Linked DNA regions of Homo sapiens: region 2 is linked to region 1. Evidence: promoter capture Hi-C in 16 types of primary human blood cells and fetal thymus (Javierre and others, 2016). All regions are on one chromosome and are shown on one strand. The core of a region is centred on a gene start or on the middle of the fragment in contact, and the rest is flanking DNA. Distances in the headings are between cores, read along the strand shown. Region 1 holds the start of POLR3A (RNA polymerase III subunit A). Region 2 overlaps LOC124902468 (a long non-coding RNA gene).

Evidence for each region. The method cuts DNA at HindIII sites, captures the fragments that hold promoters and counts their contacts. A CHiCAGO score of 5 or more calls a contact.
Region 2: a fragment that was not itself captured here is called in contact with the fragment with the promoter of POLR3A in region 1 in 2 of 17 cell types (total CD8 T cells and naive CD8 T cells); the score reaches 6.1 in total CD8 T cells.

Annotation. Positions count from the first base shown.
Region 1 is chr10:78,027,949-78,030,954 of GRCh38, reverse strand. It overlaps POLR3A (RNA polymerase III subunit A), which reads left to right and starts at 1,440. Exons shown (of 31, transcript NM_007055.4): 1 at 1,440-1,591. The coding sequence starts at 1,548. RefSeq lists an enhancer at 1,271-1,520. The HindIII fragment of the contact is 13,008 bases long and covers 1-3,006 here.
Region 2 is chr10:78,303,829-78,306,769 of GRCh38, reverse strand. All of the region lies in intron 1 of LOC124902468 (a long non-coding RNA gene), which reads right to left. Among named protein-coding and RNA genes, the nearest start is that of LINC00595, 38 kb to the right of the region's middle. The HindIII fragment of the contact is 863 bases long and covers 1,165-2,027 here.

The DNA of each region.
Region 1 (3,006 bases), core at 191-2,690:
AGGCGTGAGCCACCACGCCTGGCTGCCTACACAACTTTAAATGGTGAAAGCTAGACTCCCATGATGGCACTGTGATTTCATAACTTTTGCTCTTAACCTCTAGATAAGTCACACACGATCCAACCCTTGTTGGTATAATATTGTAAACATCAGAGCCGGGTGTGGTGGCTCACACCTGTAATCCTATCACTTTGGGAGACTGAGGCGGGCGGATCACGAGGTCAGGGATTCGAGACCAGCCTGGCCAACATAGTAAAACCCCGTCTCTACTAAAAATACAAAAATTAGCTGGGCGTGGTGGCGGGCGCTTGTAGTCCCAGCTACTCGGGAGGCTGAGCCAGGAGAATCGCTTGAACCCGGGAGGCGGAGGTTGCGGTGAGCCGAGATTTCGCCACTGCACTCCAGTCTAGGCGACAGAGCGAGACTCCGTCTCAAAAAAAAAAAAAAAAAAAAAACAAAAAAAACCCATAATGTTGACTATATATATATATATATATATATATATATAGTCAACATTATTTCATGATTAAGTGATGGAGTACCGAAATGAGTTAGAAAAACCTGATATGCCTCGTTTGTCTGTGACATTGTGTTTTGCTAGTGAGGATCCATGGCGTCTGAAAATGAGATAGCGTCCCTTCTTAAAAATTGAAAGTTGTTAAACACTTTTGTTAAGTTCTGTTTTGAGTTTCTCACAAATAATGAGGACTTAGTTCTAATTCTAAGCGCTAAGCCCTGTGGTGATGTGATTTCCTTGCTAGGCTCATGCACTAATATATCACACTAGGATCACCTCCCACAAGTTCTCACAGACTGTAGACAACTTATTTCAAGACATGAATGATCTTTACTTTCCATTCTCCCTTTTCTTCTGTAGATTACCATGGCTGTTTTCACTCTAACAGATTTTCAACTGTTTTTGTAATCAATAATGTAAGTTTAATTCTTCCCCCCTCCCTCCAAATAACTTCATGAACTGGAGGCACATGTGCGCCCATATTTTCCGCTCTGTTTTCCTTTGTTGGTCCTCCACAGATAGTGCCCTCTGTTGGATGGGCCGGTTCATTTTAGCTTCCACCTTCCCTTAAAACAATTAGAAGCTCTTAATTTAGATGGTACTGATGTTAATGATGATGATTTTCCATTTTATGCAAGTTTTGGCCCTCTGCTTGTCTAAAAGCCTTGAGGCAAAGAGTTATATGCAGTTTCTCTGCGGGTGTCTGATTACGTGGAGAAATTGACCAGAAATGGGATTTTTAAAATACAGCACACGCCTCGGTGCGGCTTCCAGTAAGCGCCACCAGGTGACGGTGCGGGGAAAGGGAAAAAAAAAAAAAAAAAAGGCATGCCGGAAGTCTCTCTTGACAGACAGACGCGCGGGCGAGTAGCGGAAGAGGAAGCGGACACGTGGGACACTCTACGGTGGCCGAGAGGATGCCGCAGATGTGTTAGCGGCGAGTCCAGAAGCAGCCCCAGGAGGTGCTGGGGGCATCGTTTCTCTAATCTGGCCTCCCGAGTGCCAAGGAGGCGTCCCGGCAGCGGTCATCATGGTGAAGGAGCAGTTCCGGGAGACGGATGTGGCCAAGAAAATGTAAGACGGAGTAAGAGTGGCCAAAGGGCTGAGAAATAGGGCAAGGGGTCCGAGGTCAGCGGTCCCGGGTCTTGCAGGGTCAGAGATGGGGTGCAATGGGAAGGGGAGGGCCAGTAGTCCATAGGTGTGACCAGCGCCCAGAACTACCAGCGTTGGTCAAAGAGCATTGGTCAGGCTGAGGGGATTTCAGCACCTCGAGAGGTCCCTGGACTTGGGCGGAGAAGTCGGAGTGGCCTGAGCCTTAATGATTTGTGCACCCTGGGCCAAAGCTCGCATTCTCCTGAAGTCATACAATGATCCCTGTTCTTCAGCGAACTATCCCCTGCTGCAGCGAGGGGAGCAATCTGGGGCGGGGACTGTCTCTAATTCTGTCAGCCGCAGAGCGTCTGACACGGAGGCAGTAGTTGCTTACCAAAAGGATGGGGTTGCCCACTAGAAAGCTGTACCACAGGCCGACGGATGGCAGTGTCAGAAATAAAGCTGCTATCCGGACTTTTGCCTTCAGAAATACGTTATTAGGCGGTGGCTCCTTCTTAGAGTTCTCGGTAAGAAAGTGAATCCAGCCGGGCGCGGTGGCTTACTCCTGTAATCCCAGCACTTTAGGAGGCCGAAGCGGGTGAATCTCCTGAGCTCAGGAGTTTGAGACTAGCCTGGGCAACGTGGCGAAACCCCGTCTCTATCAAAAATACAAAAATTAGCAGGCGTGGTGGCGCGCCCTTGTGGTCCCAGCTACTCGGGAGGCTGAGGCCGAAAAATCACTTGAGCCTGGGAGGCAGAGGTTGCAGTGGGCAACCTCCTGCATTCCACCCTGAGTGACAGAGTGAGACGGTGTCTCAAAAAAAAAAGTGAATTCATCATTCTTACAGCAGACACTGAGGAGGATACTGCGCGTTATTCCCAGTGTTGGACGTTAAAGATACGGTCTGAATAAAACTTTTACTGCCTAATCTAGTTGGAGAAGGTACACAAGTCAACACTGGGTACGACAAGTGCAATGACAAGGGTAGGTCCAGGGGGTTTTGAGAGCACATAATGGGTCCAGGCAAAAGAAAGCAGACCAAACTGCTTTTTTCAAGGAGCAGACCTGAGGGAGAGAACACAGGTGATCAGAAGGAAGCAGAAGACTTGAAGCTGTGTTAAGAAGTCATCTTGTAGGCAGTGAGGAACCTTTGAAGGATTTTCAACAGGAGAGTATCTTGATAAGAGTTCTCCTTCTGGAAAATCTCTTGATTCATGGTGGAAAGAATTAGAGGTCGAGAGACCTTGAGACGGATATACAGAATGCCTTGCTTGGGCAGCTGTGTGGATGGTTGCCATTCACTAGAACAGGTGTCTTACCTAGGTGAATGCAGCATTCTCCCATGTGGTAGCTCTACATCGACACTGGCCCTTCACACCCACCTGTACACCTGCGC
Region 2 (2,941 bases), core at 347-2,846, 280 kb before region 1:
AGTTCTGTCTATACTTCCTCCTCAGTTTCTCTTTAATCTGTTCCCTGACTCCATCCTCACCGCCATGGGCTGATCTCCACACCATTGACTGAGAAGTCCCCTAGGTGACTACCCAGTCTTACATCTCCTCCCTGGAATTTCTTCCTAGCTTGCTGCAGGAGTGGCCCACGGTTGGAATTATGCCATTCTCCAAAGGCTCTAGGATCAAACAAGCTAGCACGGAATCCAGGGCTGGCTATTGGCGACCTGGTCTCTTTCCCCAACACCTTGAACTTCAAGTCTTCCATTCCTACACTATCCTGCACCTGCACTTCTGTACATCCCTATGCCTTAGCACTGACCTTCACCTGGAGTATCTCAACCCGCCACTGCCTTCTCTACCTGGCTCCCTCCTATACCTCCCTAACAATGCAACTCAGGTGTCAACAACTCCAAAAGACTTTCCAACACTCTCATCTGGATGAGATGCCTTTCGTTCATTCATTCATTCATTCGTTTACTTCAGTAGGCATTTAATTGATTTTCCATTTGTCAAGCTGTTAGCTAGGTACCAGGGATACCAAGATGAACTGAACACAAGTCATTGCCCTCTAGGGACTCACTATCCAAGTATTTGTTATTTAAAATATAGTCCTGAACCAGCACCATTAGCATCACCAGGGAGCTTGTTAAAAATACAGAGACACCAGCCCAGACCAGCTGAATCTGCATTTGGAAAAGAGCCCCAAGTGGTTCATGTGCCTGATAAAGCTTGAGAAGCATTGGTCTGGGTGGTATGTAAACAGAGAAATATGACAAATGAGGTTAAGTGCAAAATCAAGGCAATATATGCAGGGTGCTCTAAGCAGATCATGAGAGAGAGGTAACAACTGAATATAAAGGGAGGCTGGAGGGTCTGGATAGGTGAGCTCAAGACAGAAAGCAGAGTTGGAATTGTGGGGAAGGGGATTTCCAGGCAGAGAGTACAGCTTGGGCAAAGGCATGGAGGGGAGAAAATGTGTATGATAGGTGGGAGTGAAGGGTCCACTGGCTGCTAAATGTGAGGTCTGGCAGACACAGGACGGTGAGAGAAAAAGCACACATCCAGCTTTACTTCCTAAAATTTCACCCTAGACCCATGGCTATCCTTTCAGCCACCCACAGTGAATGCCAGGTCATGAAGCTTGGATGTGCACCTTAAGAGTGGAGTGACACCATGTGCATTTCAAAGGCAGCAATGAAACTGGATTTAAGTTCGAGGAGCCTGCAGCCTGGGAACCTGGCTAGGGGACACAAGTGTGCAGACCAGAGGTGACACCAAACCAAACCAGAGCAGAGGCACCCTGGGTGAGAGGAGAGCGCAGACTCCAGAGATATTGGGGAGGTCAAATTGACAGGACTGAATGTGTGGAAGATGCAAAGAGAGGAGCAGGAGTAATTCTCAGCATCCTGTCCTGGGTTGGTGAAAGTACAAACCAACCAAGGTGGGAGCAGCGGAAGGAAGAACCAGCTAAAGTTAAAAAGCACTGGTATTGACTGAGCACCGGATCTGTGTTGGGCACCACACAGATTGCTTTGTGTAAATTTCCTCAATTAATCCTCACTGGGCAATCCTCAAAGCAGGTACTATTATGGTTCTCAGTTTGCAGAGGAGGACACTGAAGGCACAGAGGGCAATTACTTGTCCAGGGTCACACAGGGAGGGAGAAGGAGAGCTGGGATCTGAGCTCAGGCTATACCCACTTTGGACACCCCACCTGAGGTCACCCCACTTCACAGACTGGCTTTGGACATGCTGAGAGTCAAGGACATGCCAGATTTCCAGTGGAGAAGAATAAGTGAGACAGGCGCTCAGGTGAGCCACTGGGCAGGGTGTCAGCCCTCAGAGGTAGCCAGAGCCCTTGAGTGGATGAGATGATGCAGGAGTAAGGGGCACCAGGACTGGTGGGCAGTGGGTGACACTAACATCCACATAGCTCCCCACTGCCTCTTGGGCTGCCACTCGCTAGTTTAGCCAGAGCCTGACATCATGCAGACACCCAGAAGCTTCAGGAACTGGCCTCTCCCTCAGTGAACCAGGCGTCCCCACCAGGCCAGAGGCTGAGAGGAACAATATCAGAGAGGGGAGACAGATGTGCCAGAGCCAGGCAGGAGCCAGCTTCAGGGGCACCTTAAAGTAGAGGAACCCTGCTCCCCCTCCCACACTTCAGCTACAGTGATTGCAACCCCATCTGCACTTTCCAACTAGGTGGTAATATCATTACTCCCAAGCCGCCATCTTCTCAACTATAAGATGGAAGCACTAGCGCTCTGCTCTCGGAGCTGTCAGCAGAACCACACGTGGTTCTGCTGTGGTGAACCACGTCCTTGCGTGAAGAGGGTACTTTGCAGACTGCAGAGGGATTCCTTATGGCTGGCAGCACCCCCCCCCCCAACATCATACAGTGGAGAGGATCTCCTTGCTGTGGACATCAGGGCTAAAGCTAGTTAGCCCAGCTCCAAAGTCAGGGCTAGGGCTGAGGCTCCACGTGGGAAATCCTGGCTAGGGAAGAAGGAACCAGCATGGGGAGGGGGCCTTTGGGTGGAGGTAGGGGAACTTTAATCACAGACTGAGGGATACCCTGCAGCTCAGCCCCAGCGCATTGTGATAAGCTGGGAGTATGCCTTAATTTTCCCGAGCTTCTGATTTTGCAAAAGAAGCCAGAAATCCAGATCTATAGGTGAAATCTCCAGGTTTTTTATGTAGTTTCTCAAACGCAACTAATTTATAAGTAGTGTAAACACTGGGGAAGAGGGGTACCTAGTCCACACTAGATCCTGTCTCAGATCTAAATTAGGCGCTTTGTCCCTCCCTCAACCTTTGGCAAGAACAAGGGCATCACTTGCTGTGCCTGTGAGTGTATATATAGACATGCCCATGGGTGTTCCTATATTTGAGTGTGTAAGCAGTGCATGGCTGCGC